Linked DNA regions of Homo sapiens: regions 1, 2, 4 and 5 are each linked to region 3. The links are contacts of gene promoters, found by promoter capture Hi-C in blood cells and fetal thymus (Javierre and others, 2016). All regions are on one chromosome and are shown on one strand. The core of a region is centred on a gene start or on the middle of the fragment in contact, and the rest is flanking DNA. Distances in the headings are between cores, read along the strand shown. Region 1 holds the start of PHF8 (PHD finger protein 8). Region 2 overlaps PHF8 (PHD finger protein 8). Region 3 holds the start of APEX2 (apurinic/apyrimidinic endodeoxyribonuclease 2). Region 4 has its middle 2.9 kb from the start of RRAGB. Region 5 holds the start of TSR2 (TSR2 ribosome maturation factor).

Region 1 (2,721 bases), core at 65-2,564, 960 kb before region 3:
GGGTCGTGTTCGGAGAGTTTAAATAATCCTTTCCATCACTCTCAATATCATTCCTTCCCCGACCAGTCAGGAGTCTCATCACCCCCAAAACTGAAATAAATATAAATCTCTAAACTGACCAGCTCGTTCTGTACTTTAAAGATGACAGGGTTCTGGCTGCATCCCTGAAACTCAAAAGGATCTATTCAAAACCCCTCAAACTGACTAGAATTTCCTCACACTCCCGAAACTAAGCAAGGATTCTTTTGCATCGCTCGGAAACTGGCAGCGTTTCCTTGCAGCCCCCCCTCAAACTGATGAGAGCTCCCTAGTCTCCCCAAATGTTCAGGTACCTCACAGTATATCCTAAAACTGACAGTAATAGCCTCGCAGCCCCCAAAACTTACAGGAATCTTAACGCTTCCCCAACTGACAGGAACCTCCTCACGCCCCAAACCTGACAAGAACGTCTTCAGTCCAGAATCCTACAGGGACCTCCTCATGCTTTGGGCTGCAAGGACTCCACGCCCGCGGAGCTCAGCCCCAGCGACACGCCGGCAGCCGGGCTAGCTCCGGGACTGCGAAGCGCCTCAGCGGAGGCTCGTCCGGTAGTTCCGGCCCCTACGGCGACGCGCGTCGAATTCTGGGATAGTCCCCGTACCGCCGGGAACCTCGCTCGCCTTCCCCTCGAGCCCCCCGCTGGGTCGCGCGGCGCCAGCCGCTCAACGGTGCTTCAGAGCAGCCTCCTCCACAACATTCCCCTCGGCCCGGCCGTTCGGGCCTACTGGAGACCGCGGCTTGGGCCTAGTCTGGCGGCCGCCCGGCGAACGGGCAAGTGGCGTCGTCGCTGGGCCGGCAGGAGATACTCGCGAGCAAACCAACGGGGAAAGAGATGAACCGGCCGCCACGTCCGAGGCACACGGCCCGAAAAGTCGCTGGGAGAAGCCCAGTGGCGGTGGTAGGCAATTCGGAGTAGTCAATAAAGTTTATTCAAAACAATGAGGAAGTTGAGGCGGAGAGGGGAGGAGAAATACGGGATAAACAGCTACCATGTTGAGAGTGGCGGCGCTACCCAGACAACCAAGGCGACCGCCATCTTATGAGGGCTGGACTCGCGAGGTGAGCGCGGCGGAGGCGGGGAACCGCGAGCCGCCGGCTCCCGGGTGACGTCATCGGGGGGGCGGGGCGCCACCTTGAGAAAGGAGGGCGGTTCTCAGCCACCTTTGGACCCGCTCGTCTCTTTAAGGTGCCCAATCGCCGCTGAAGACCTTGAGCCCAGAGGCGGAGAAGCCGCCATCTTAGGCGAGGCAGACGTTTGGCTCCATTTTGAGTGGGGCCCGAAACTTCCTAGCCTTCCCCCTCCTCCGGGCAAACAGGGAGTTCAGCTACCCCGACTCGCACACTCCTCCTCCCCAGCCTTCTCCTCCTATGAGAGGAGGTGAACTCGGTGACTCCAAACTACAAAATTAATAGGTGGCGGCGGGGGCGGGCTTCAGCCGGGGTAGAGGCGGAGTACTCACCGCGGCTCCTGTTCATTGAGCACCTTCGATAGGCTGGGCTCTTTCCCACGGTCTCTGCGTTGTTGGTTCTTCCCCCTGTGAAGGAAGCTCTGTGATTATCACCAAATGAAGGCAGGGGCTTCGAGAAGCCAAGTGACTTGAGTCCCGGAGCAGGGACGTTGAACCTTGTGCCCTGTGCTACCCGCGTTCTGTCCCCAGGCCCTCAGTGTAGTTCCTCTGTAAAGCTGCTGCCAACTCCACAACTCCCTCTGAACTCTTCTTTGACCCTACTGTTTCACTTCAGTTCAAATACAGTTCAAGGATTTGTTTGCACCTGTCCCACAATTTTCTGACTATAGCCTGAGGGGAGGGGAGAGGAGGGGGGATGAGAGGAAAGGCTGAGTTAGTGGAGCTTTGCTGAGTTAGTGGAGCTTCGTACATATGCTTCAAGATGGCCTAGGTTTTCTCAAACATTCTAGAAAATTCTCTAGGAGTTATCTTACTATTTCATTTTCTTAAAGGGTCCCATTGCTTTAAAAAGGAAATGTGTGCGTGCACACAATTTACTAACCAGTGATGGTGGGGTAGGCCCTGGGGATGCAATGGTGAAAACAGGGCCTCTGGAGTGGGAGGGCATCTGCCAGTGCAGGAAACAAAGTTGCGAGTAAACAATTGGAATAGAAGGCACAGTAAGCACACAAATACCACCTGCAAAATGACCTTTGCAAAATGCAACATGAAGCTACAAAAGAGCCTTACAAGCTGCTTGCAGCTGCTGTAAGAAAGACGGCAGGGGGACATGGACGATTAAGTTCACTTAAATAAACAAGCGAGAACATTGTACTCAAAAGGATCAACGTGTACAAATGCATGGAGGCACATAGAAAAATATTTACTAGAAGTTGAATATTGTTGGAACAAGGAAAACAGAAGAGAGATAGGTAGGAGGTCAAACAGTAAAGGGTCACAACATGAAAGATTGCGAAATGCAAAAGAGTTTAGATTGTATGCAGTTAGCAAAAAGAAAACACAGGTTTTTGAGCAGGGGTAGCTTAGTCTCATATTTGTGACTTACCCAGAGGATGGTTTAGGGTTTTTTTTTTTTTTTATGTTTGTTGTTTTAGAGACAAGGTCTCACTCTGTCAACTCAGGCTGGGCGGTCATAGCTCACTGCACCCTAGAACTCCTGGACTCAAGCGGTCCTTCCGCCAGAGCCTCATGAGTAACTGAGACTATAGGCGCA
Region 2 (2,733 bases), core at 174-2,673, 970 kb before region 3:
CTTCTCATCACCAATCTACCTCCTTCTACACCCATCCTTTTTTTCCTATCACAACAAAAGTACTATCTTTCCTTCCTTCTAAAGCCAAGTTTTCCACCTGGGTCACATGTTTTCTTACCTTCTCAATCAATTATTCCTTCTTTCTGCAGTATCTTCAATCTCTCTCTTTCTCTTCACAATAGCATTTAAACAAGTCTATTGATGTTTACAAATTAAAAAACCAAGACCTACCCGCCCTCCCATCCTCCCTCCCTTCTGTCCGCCCCTTCACAGCCAAACACATTCTTTCTTTAAACCTATGCAGCTTAAAAATGAAGTAAATAAACCTACGAAGCTTGATAATGACTCCTCTTTTGAATAAGTAACAGCTGTACATGGTGCAAAACTCAGAGTACAGAAGTATATACAGTAAAAAGTCTCCCTCCCACCCTTAGCTGCCTAGTAGTATCCAGAGGTGTTCTATCAGAGCCAAATCGATACTTTTTTAGGGTTGCTATATGCACTTTGTGATTCATCTCCTGCTAGTCTGATCTTAGTCCCCACCTTCTTTAAAATAGATCTCACTGGTTTCCTGACCTCCTTGTTGATATATGCAATAAGTACTTCTCTGCTTTATCTCCCTTAACCTCTTAGCACCATTTTCGCCCTGCCAACCCTGTACACTCTCCACCTGACAAGCTCTCTATCCTTGACTTCTATAACGTCCCATCTGGCTGGTGCCCATTCCTTCAGCTGACATTTAATGAGCATCCGCCAGGCTCTGGTCTAGGTGCTGGTGAGACGAAGACAAAAAACAAAGCATACAAAAATCCCTGCCCTCATAGAGCTGATGTTCTAGTGGGGAGGCAGACAAGAAACAAGATAAATCAATGCAATTGGTGAAACACATTGTATGCTGGATAGTGAGAAGACCTAGGTAGAAAAAAAAACAGGAAGGGGGATATAGAGGAATATGTATGTGTGAATATATAACTATACACACCACACACACACACACACACACACACACACACACACAATGGGGGGGCCAGGAAGAATGGTAGTGAGGGTGAAATATTAGATAGGGAAGACAGGGAAAGACTGACAAAATGGCTTTTGAATAAAGACCCAAAGGGAGTAAGGGAGCAAGCCCCTCATGTGGCTATGAAGGAAGAGCATCCCAATAAGAACAGCAAGTACAAAAGCCCTGTGGTGGGAGCATCCCTAGACTCCGAAGGTAGCAGAGAGGAGGAGAGTGTTCTAGAGTAGAGAGGTAGGAGGACAGTAATAAGTCAGAAAGGCAATAGACTCATGTAGTAGGGTGTTGTAGGCCACTGTAAAGCACTCTGGCTTTTCCTGGGTAGCCACAAGAACTGGGGAGTAACAGCCACTATGAGTAGGGATGTGATGTGATTTTAATCATGTCTTTGGCTGTTCCTTTTTCCCGATGAACTCTTTTTCTCCTGCCCAGTCCTTAAATGTTGAAGTTTCTTAGGTCCTCTTACCTGGGCACTCTTTTCTCCTCACTTTTCCTCACTGTTCTCACTCCCAGGGCTCCATGTGCCCTCTATGCACTCATAACTCCAAGCCAGATTAGACCCTTCCCTCCAAATGTCTCCTGGGTGAGACATTTCTACTGGATAGCCACTTACGTACTTCAAATTCAACATGTCCAAACTCAGTTTCTCCTTCTGTCTGTCACCTAAACATGCTCCCTTCTCTTAGGTTTCCCACTTCTGCAAATGGCTCCATAACCTCACCAGGCATTCAAGCCAGAAACCTGGCAGCCATCACTGATTCACCTCTAGCCCTCTCCCTCCACTATACCCTGAAGTAGACGTTCTAGCATCAAGTTAAGAACACTGACTTTAGGTCCAGATTCTCTGGGTTTGCATCCTGGCTGTGCCACTTACTAGCTGTGGGATCTTGGACAAGTTACTTAACCTCTCTGTGCCTCAGTTTCCTCATTGTAAGATGGGGATAAAAACTGTACCTACTTCACAAGGTTGTTATCAAAAGCAAATGAACTAAATATATAGAAAGTGTTTAGAACAGTGTCTGGCCCATAGTAAGTGCTGTGTATGTTTGTTGTTATTATCCAAGTTATCAGCATGTCCTATCAACTCTCTTTATTAGCTATCAATTGTGTTAATTTGTCATCCTTACTGCCCCTGCGCTAGTTCAGGCCACTATTATCTCTAACTCAGTTATTGTCCTGCCCTCCTAACTGGACTCCTGGCCCCTATTCTGTCCCTACCCAATCGGCCCTCCACACTACAGCCAAAGTGATCATTTAAAAACACAAATTTGATCCTATCAACCCATGCTTAAAATGCCTCACAGGGTCCCTATTTTTCCTAAGGTAAAGTATAAACTTACCATGGCCCAAAAGGCCTTGCCTCTCTGGCTGAGCTCACGTCTTTCCCCTCACACACAGCGTATGCTGGGGGAGACATTCCTACTGCATAGCCCACTTACAATCTGTGGGGCCTAATGGAAATGAAAAGTGGGAGCTCCCTGTTCAAAAAATAGAAAAGCTTTTTCCTTTCTTCCATGGTCTCTCTCTCAACTTACCATGCAGTTTTAATATGCTATTTACTGTCACGCTCCCTTGGGTATAGGGATAACTCAAGGGGCGAGTGCAGGCCCACACAAGTACCCTGGGGCCCTGCCCGGTGACTTAGTACACAGGGTACATGAACCCAACCGACTCTGTCCACACCTGCACCTGGGCCCAGTGCCCCAGGCAGCTAG
Region 3 (2,700 bases), core at 165-2,664:
TTAATCACAGAGCTATTTTCTGATAGCAACAACTGGTAACCTTTTAAGTCCTCCAGGAGGAAAAGCAGTTTACTGCGTCTTTGCTGTAACCATTGAGGATGATGGCTCTAAGACTTAAATTCTGGGGAACAAATAATTATGCTGCAATTCTGGGTGAGGAACCTAAAGATGCATCGTTATGCTTTTCCCTGGACATTGGGCATATCCATTACTTCTAATTTTTGTGCTCTCAAAAACAAGCCATGAACCTGTCGATGCTCTTGCTATTATCCTTTGTTCATTCATTCACCTGACAAATATCTATTGCTTCCCAACATATGCTGTGTCCAGTATTAGGGGATGGGGCTAACAAGATGAACCAGACATGGTCATTGCTCTCAAGTTGCTGGCATTCTAATGGCAGCAGAAATAGAAGTCAATGATAGCTGTGTATTATAAGTACTGTGACAGAATGGACCATAGGGTGCCGTGGGGCCCCAGAGGAAAAGACTTAACTGGGGAGGTGTGTGGTCAGTAAAAACACTCAGAAAAGTAATTATTGAGCTAATTAAGACAGGGTGTGAATCCTGGCTCTACTACTTCAGTGTAAGAGAGAGTGAACTGTGAGAATGAAATGAATTCATTCGACGTCTCTAACTTAGCCTCCATGTCCCGAACTGGGTTGTCTTGAGAATGAAATGAGATAACATATACAGAAGAGCCATGGATGCATCCGGAGACAATGCTGCTCACGAGCTTACATTTCCTGGGCTTCGATTTCACTTATCTGAGAAACAGAACCAAGAGTAAGGATGTGTCCGGCTACATCCTTCAGAATGTTAAGAGCCAAGACAAAAGCTACAGGGCAGGCTTGAGACAGCCTCCTCCTCCTCCCCTCTGCCCCAATAAAGCCAAAGGCCCTCCTCCTAAGTCTTATCTCAGTGGAGCGACTCTTACTGCTCCCTCCTCCAACCATGAACTTCCCTTTGCCCAGTCCAACGCGAGCACTTAGCGCCAGCTATTCCTGGGGCGCAAGCGCTGCAGCCATCTGTGAACTTAGGTGGGCGGTCCGCCGCACTGAGGGCGGGGCTTTGGCAGCTGAGCAGTTCCGCTCAGGGTTCCGTCGCTTAAAAAGTGGCAAAATGCCGTTTGTAAGTAACCGGACGCACCACTTGGACTTCTGAGTAGAGGAAAAACGCATTGAGACTCAGCTGTCCGAGCGGAAGGAGCGGGAGCCCAACTGGAAACTCCTCTCGCCATTCATTGCCCCTAGGCTTCCGCTTTGCTTCCTTCAGCGTCCACCCAGTTCCTCCTCCCGCCAATGAGAGCTGAGGAAGTTGAAGCCCCCGCCCGACGTGCGTCAGGCGCTTTAGTGGTACGCACGAGAACGCCTGCGCAAACGCGCGCGGGAGGCGGGCCTGGCCAACTTCTGAACAGGAAGCAGTTCGCTCGCGCCTAGGTTGGCGCGGGCTGGGAGGTGTTCCAGCCCTTTAAGATGTTGCGCGTGGTGAGCTGGAACATCAATGGGATTCGGAGACCCCTGCAAGGGGTGGCAAATCAGGAACCCAGCAACTGTGCCGCCGTGGCCGTGGGGCGCATTTTGGACGAGCTGGATGCGGATATCGTCTGTCTCCAGGAAACCAAAGTGACCAGTGAGCGCTCTGGATTCCAGGATCCCTACATACTTTTTCTTTCCCGCTAACTTTTGTCCCCTGTCCCATGTAATTTTACTTTCCCAGTTTCCTATTCTTAGAGTCCTGTCCTTAGACCCAGGTCCCTTCCCTCTTAAACTTCCATTTCCCACCCTAGCTAGATCCCCTAATTGCACTCCATCTCCTGTCTTCAGCAAACTTTAGCTCCTTCTCGAAACCCCATATCTAGTCAGATTCCCACTCATTCTCCGGCCCCAAACTCAGTCCCCTGAATTTCCTCCTTCCATACGCTGTCCATCTCCCCGCCGCCAAGTCAAACCCCCGAATTCTTCATCCCTGCCCCAAGCTCAGATCCTCTAATTCCCACCCCATCTTTGACCCCAGCTCAGTCTAATTTCCTCTTTTTCACATTTCCACCTCAGAACCCCAGTACCCCTTATCTATTCCCATCTCTCCTCCCAGCGGAAAGTCCCTAATTCCCACCTCATTTCCCACCCCAAGCTTAGATGTCCTCTTATTTCTTCACCCTCTTATCTCCCCTCAGAATCCCCTAATTCCTTTTCCCTCCACCCCCAGTTCAGATCCCCTAATTCCCTCTCTCTTACCTCTCACCCTTAGCTCAGATTCCCACCATCCTCTCGTATGTCCATCCCCATCCCCAGCTTCCTCCTATCGTTCAGACCCCCAGGCTTAGCTCTGATTCTTTCCCCTTCCCACCTAATTCTCCACCTCCACTTCATAGTCTCTAACCGCCCCCCACCAAGCCTTCTAATTCTGATATCAATTTCCTCTCTGACATTTCCCATCTTTCTAGGTCCTCCTCTAATCATGGATATTTCATTCCCGTCACCCCCAACTCTGGCTCTGATGTGTGCAAGGAATTAGCCTACAACTGTAATTCCAGGCCTTTGTGTTTCTCGGATGCTAGTTTTACCTCTGACTTAATCTTACATTTTTTTTTTCCAGGGGATGCACTGACAGAGCCCCTGGCTATCGTTGAGGGTTATAACTCCTATTTCAGCTTCAGCCGCAACCGTAGCGGCTATTCTGGTAAATGGGGCTTTCTGTG
Region 4 (2,700 bases), core at 99-2,598, 710 kb after region 3:
GGTGCAGCTTGGTTTTATACATTTTAGGGAGACAAGGGACTTCAGTCAAATACATGTAAGAAATATATGGGTTTGGCCCAGAAAGGTGGGACAACTCGGAGTGGGGGTGGGAGGGGGGCTTCCAGCTTATAGGTAGATTGAAAAAATTTCTGGTTGACAATTGGTTGAGTTTAAAGACCTAGGATCAATAGAAAGGAATGTTTGGGTTAAGATAAGAGGTTGTGGAGACTAAAGTTTAATCATGCAGGAAGCCTGCAGGTTCAGAAAGAATAGAATGTAAATGCTTCTTATCAGATTTAAAGGTCTGTGTTGATGTTAAAGCTGGAGAAATATAATGAGGCATGTTTGACCCCTACTTCCTGTCATGGCCAGAAAGTCACTCAGGATACATTTTTAAAGAGTGCCCTGGCCGAGGAGAAAGCACATTCAAATGGTTGAGGAACCTTGGTATTTTATTTTTGATTTACAATAGGAATGCACTGCACATTGGCCCTATTCACCATTATTTGGAATCTATGCTTATTTGATTTAGTTTCTCAATCCTTTTCCACTACCTTTCTTCCATTCCCTTCCTTCTACCCCTCTTCCTCCTTTTTCCTCTTCTCCTTACCCCTCTATTCCTTCCCTCTTTCCCATCTCCCCACTTCTCCCCCTTTTCTTCTTCATCCCTCCCCTCCCCTTCTTTATCTGTTTCTTCCTCTTCTTACTTCTTGCCTCTTGGCACTTTGAGGCAACTATCAGCAGTTCCTTATGAAGCTTGTGAGGTAGTGAATGTGGGTAGAGAAATATAGCTCGTGAGTTGCTATAGGCCAGATCTTGAAGGTCCTTGTATTGACACACTTTTTCCTTAAGTTATGGGAGGATTTTAAAGTAGAGAAGTAGTCTCCTCCGATTTGTGGTTTAAAAGATTACTCAAGTTGAGGTTGCAGTGAGCCATGATTGTGCCACTGTACTCCAGCTTGGGTCAGAGAGCAAAACCCTGTCTCAAAAACAACAAGAACAACAACAACTACAACGACGATAAAAAGAAATTTGATCGCACCTGTAATCCCAGCACCTTGGGAGGCCAAGGTGGGCAGATCCCTTGAGGCCAGGAGTTTGAGTCTGGCAACAAAGTGAGACCCAGTCTCAACAAAAACTAGTTAATTAATTAATTAAAATAAAGGATCACTTGAGCAGCTTTTAGAGAGGATGGATGGTTTGAAGGAGGGGGAAAAGGATACCAGCAGCAACAGGGAGACAGTATTTTTTTTTTGCTTGCTTTGTCGCCCAGGTTGGAGTGCAGTGGTGCGATCTTGGCTCACTGCAACCTCCGCCTCCTGAGTTCAAGCAATTCTCCTGCCTCAGCCTCCCGAGTAGCTGGGATTATAGGCGCGTGCCACCACACCTGGCTAATTTTTGTAGTTTTAGTACAGATGAGGTTTCACTATGTTGGCCAGGCTGGTATCGAACTCCTGACCTCAGGTGATTCGCCCACTTTGGCCTCCCAAAGTGCTGGGATTACAGGTGTAAGCCACTGCACCTGGCCGAGACAGTACATTTTTATAAAAGAGTGGTTTAAGGGGCCAATTTGGCTGGTGAAGCCCGGGGGCAGTAGGTGTTGGAAGACATATTTGAAAGCTGCCTTTAGAAAGCAAGCACATATTAATTACGTCAAATGTTTTGGGGGATGAGATGACTAATGAAGATCAACTCACTCACTCCCAACCCCTTTGGAGCTGCCACTGTGGGAAAATCACTTAGTAGGCTATTGTGGATATCTAGGCCAGAGATTATGATAGCTGGAACAAAAAGAGTGGCAGTAAGAATAAGAGCAGGCAGGTAGTAGAAAATAGACTGATCATGACCTGGTCTCATTGACACGTATGGAGGGCAGTGAATCTAAGGTGACTTCCTGGTTTGGGACTCAGGATCTTTCATCAGACAAGGAAAGCCAGAATGGAAGCTTGTTTGGGGGTAGTTGGTTGGAAGGAGACAAAAGATTAGCTAGTGATAGAGCGAAGGATCACTAATCAGAGTAGAATAACTTTTTTCTTGAGGCAAGGCAGTTGTGGAGAAAAGGAATCACACAGGACCTCAAGTGGAAAGTGTGGGAGCAGACAGTGTAACTGCCCAACGGGTTCACCTTGCCTGCTGCCTAGACAGAGCTGATTTATCAAGACAGGGGAATTGCAATGGAGAAAGAGTAATTCATGCAGAGCCAGCTGTGGGTGAGACTGCAGTTTTATTACTCAAATCAGTTTCGGGGGATTGAAATTTTTAACAATAATTTGGTGGGTAGGGGCTTGGGAAGTGGGGAGTGTTGACTGGTCAAGTTGGATATGGAATCATAGGGGGCTCTAAGTGAGTTTTTCTTGCTATCTTCTGTTCCTGGGTGGGATCGCAGAACTGGCTGGGCCAGATTACTGGTCTGGGTGCTGTAAGTGAAACGAGGGAAGTTCCCCTATCCCCCTTGCAGGGCATGCCACAGCGGGAGTGGCTCACTGCTTCACAACCTCTAGGGGGAGCATGCAGAGGGGCAGGCTGTGGGGCTCCGACCCCATGGCAACCTCTAGGGGTGAATATAACATTTGGGTGGGAAGGCAGGAGTGCCTATCCTCACCTAGGTCCATGGGCACAGGCCCCAGGGTGGAGCCCTAGCCACGGACCCGCCTTTCTCTGCCCAGCACTTTCCTGCCCCGCTCCTGTATCATAAGCTGG
Region 5 (2,745 bases), core at 28-2,527, 560 kb before region 3:
TTATGTTTTTGTTTTCATTCATTTAAAAGTGTTTTCTAATTTGCTTTGTGATTTTTTTCTTTGACCCATTTATTGCTTAGGAGTGTGTTAATTTCCATATATTTGTGAATTTTGTAAGTTTCTTTTTACTGATTTTTAACTTCTTTCCATTGTGGTCAGACAACATACTTTGTATGTTCAATCCTGTTAAATCTATGGAGGCCTACTGTATGGCCTAGTGTATGATCTGTTCTGGAGAATGTTCTTGTGTACTTCAGAAAAACATGTACAGTTATCCCTGGGTATCCGTGGGAGACTGGTTCCACGACCTCCGGAGGATACCAAAATTCATAGATGCTCAAGTCCCTGATATAAAATGGCATAGTATTTGCGTATAACCTATGAATATTCTACTGTATACTTTAAATCATTTCCAGATGTGACTCACGCCTATAATCCCAGCAATTTGGGAGGCTGAGGCAAGTGGATTAAACCCAGGAGTTCGAGACCAGCCTGGGCAACATGGCGAAACCCTGTCTCTACTAAAAACACAAAAATTAGCTGGGAGTGGTGGTGGGCACCTGTAATCTCAGGTACTCGGGAGGCTGAGGCACGAGAATTGCTTGAAACCAGGAGACGGAGGTTGCAGTCAGCCGAGATGGCGCCACTGCACTCCAGCCTGGGCCACAGAGTGACACTCGGTCTCAAAAAAATAGATAAATAAATAATTTCCAGGTTACTTATAATGCCTAATAAAGTGTAAATGCTATGTATATAGCTGTTATACTGTACTGTTTAGGAGAATAATGTCAAGAAAAAAAGTATACACATGTTCAATGCAGATGCAATTTTTTCCTGAATATTTTCCATCTGAGGTTAGTTGAATTCACGGACGTGGACTGCCCCCCATAGGGAGAGCTGATTGTATTTTACTGTTGTTGGTTGCAGTATTCTATACAGATGTTAGGATGCTTTTTTTAAATGCAGATTTTTAAGGCTATACTCACTGAGTCCTCTGCCCCAGGGCCTGGAATCTGTATCTGTAATAAGTTCCCCACATATTTCCTCCGCAGTACCCACGGATCCGGAAACCATGGCCCCACACGTCCTTCAGGTCTGGTGTCCTTTGATTTAAGTGAGTAACTCTGGTGGTGTCATCGATCGCTCTGACAGATTTTTCTTTTGCTCTAGTCTTGCTGCCAGGTCTGCGGAAAAGAGAATCCTGTGTTCTCAGGCTCGGCTTGCGTCTCGTTCTGCCTGGGCCGAGCTACAGAGGGATTGGGCCGCCGGGACGTCACGTGGACTGGGGCCGGATAATGGCGGGCGCTGCAGAAGATGCGCGAGCTCTTTTCCGGGCTGGGGTCTGCGCGGCCCTGGAGGCCTGGCCGGCCTTGCAGGTCAGTGGGGCCAGGGCCAGGGCAAGGTCAAGGTTAGGGCCCGGGGCAGAACAGGAGTTGGTTGGGCTAGGTGCCTGAGGCTTGGCTAGGCGGCATAAGAGGAGTTGGCTGGGCGGCGTAAGCGGCCTCCAGGCTACTCCAGGTCTGCTCCCAAGCTGACTTGGTGGGCTTGGACCTGTGTTTACAGATCGCTGTGGAGAATGGCTTCGGGGGTGTGCACAGCCAGGAGAAGGCCAAGTGGCTGGGGGGTGCAGTGGAGGATTACTTCATGCGCAATGGTGAGTGAATGTGAGGCGCCGCGACCCGCCTGTGTGGGGGTGTGGAGAGGAGGAGCCCCATCCCGCAGAGCCTGCATTTCCTCTCGAGCAGTTGTGGATTGGTACCTAAAGGTGAGGTGGAATGAATTCAGCTTTTAGAATCAGAATCCTGGATTCCAGTGCTTTACGGGCTGTACCACTGACTCGTGGGATTACTCTGGACAAGGCAGTTTACCTCCCTGAGACTCAGTTTCCTAGTTTCTAAAATGCGTATAAAAGTATCCACCAGAGCGCTGTACAGTAGAAATATTATGCTAGTCACATATAATTTAAAATTTTTTAGTAGCCACTTTAATAAAGCAAAAAGCAGATGAAATCAATGTTAGTAAACTCGGTGTGTATGAAATATTTCAACATGTAGTCAGTATAAAACATTGAGATATTTTACATTTTTTAGTATTAAGTTTTCAAAATCTGGTATTTTACAGTTTTAGCACATTTCGATTTGGCCTAGCCATATTTCAAGTGCTCAGTAACCACCTGTGGCTGTTTGGACAGCAAAGATCTACACTGTAGGCTCGTCTTGAGGGATATACAAGAACAAGAGGCCCAGTAGAGGGCCTGTTGCATAGTATGGTTTTTAAAAAAATCTTCATTCAATTTCTAGCTTTGGAGATGACATTAGGCAGAGTCATCTCTCTCAAGAAAGTATACTATCCATTGAGGATCCACACACGTAAATAGTTACAACATTGATAGATTTTCTGATAAAGAGGAGCTCAGGGTGCATGGGGTAACAGGATGGGGAGACAGCTTCTTAGTGGAGGTGGTGAATTGGGCTGGGTCTTAGTGAGAAGGAGTTAACTAGGTGGGGGAAGCAGAGAGAGCAACACTCAAGTTCTGTGGCATGAGGGTATAATGTGTTATATTTGGAAAGTAGCAGGGAGCTCAGTATTGGAGTATGGGCGTGTGTGCGTGGGGGGTGGAGGAGTGGTAGAGAATGAAGCTGGGGTGTGGGAAGCCCCCTTGAAAAGCATAAGACATGGAAGCCCTTATGTGCCTTTGATTTTATCATTTAGGCCAGTGTTTGCCAAAATTCATGCTAACTAGTT

What was found. Contacts are between HindIII fragments. The CHiCAGO score rates a contact against its expected background, and 5 or more counts as called.
Region 1: a fragment that was not itself captured here is called in contact with the fragment with the promoter of APEX2 in region 3 in 12 of 17 cell types (fetal thymus, total B cells, naive CD8 T cells and 9 more); the score reaches 15.1 in fetal thymus.
Region 2: a fragment that was not itself captured here is called in contact with the fragment with the promoter of APEX2 in region 3 in 1 of 17 cell types (naive CD8 T cells); the score reaches 5.2 in naive CD8 T cells.
Region 4: a fragment that was not itself captured here is called in contact with the fragment with the promoter of APEX2 in region 3 in 4 of 17 cell types (M2 macrophages, activated CD4 T cells, monocytes and 1 more); the score reaches 7.5 in M2 macrophages.
Region 5: a contact is called between the fragment with the promoter of TSR2 here and the fragment with the promoter of APEX2 in region 3, in 2 of 17 cell types (total B cells and monocytes). The highest score is 6.0, in total B cells.

Annotation. Positions count from the first base shown.
Region 1 is chrX:54,043,376-54,046,096 of GRCh38, forward strand. PHF8 (PHD finger protein 8) reads right to left here and starts at 1,098. Exons shown (of 22, transcript NM_015107.3): 1 at 387-1,098. RefSeq lists enhancers at 770-1,019, 1,230-1,689 and a silencer at 1,040-1,209. The HindIII fragment of the contact is 3,125 bases long and covers 1-2,721 here.
Region 2 is chrX:54,027,003-54,029,735 of GRCh38, forward strand. The region is part of intron 2 of PHF8 (PHD finger protein 8); the gene reads right to left. Among named protein-coding and RNA genes, the nearest start is that of PHF8, 16 kb to the right of the region's middle. The HindIII fragment of the contact is 2,182 bases long and covers 333-2,514 here.
Region 3 is chrX:54,998,949-55,001,648 of GRCh38, forward strand. APEX2 (apurinic/apyrimidinic endodeoxyribonuclease 2) reads left to right here and starts at 1,415. Exons shown (of 6, transcript NM_014481.4): 1 at 1,415-1,631; 2 at 2,598-2,681. The coding sequence starts at 1,475. RefSeq lists a silencer at 1,296-1,435. The HindIII fragment of the contact is 4,396 bases long and covers 1-2,130 here.
Region 4 is chrX:55,713,521-55,716,220 of GRCh38, forward strand. No RefSeq gene overlaps it. Among named protein-coding and RNA genes, the nearest start is that of RRAGB, 2.9 kb to the right of the region's middle. The HindIII fragment of the contact is 1,189 bases long and covers 755-1,943 here.
Region 5 is chrX:54,439,127-54,441,871 of GRCh38, forward strand. It overlaps TSR2 (TSR2 ribosome maturation factor), which reads left to right and starts at 1,278. Exons shown (of 5, transcript NM_058163.3): 1 at 1,278-1,376; 2 at 1,564-1,654. The coding sequence starts at 1,296. RefSeq lists an enhancer at 996-1,045. The HindIII fragment of the contact is 25,574 bases long and covers 1-2,745 here.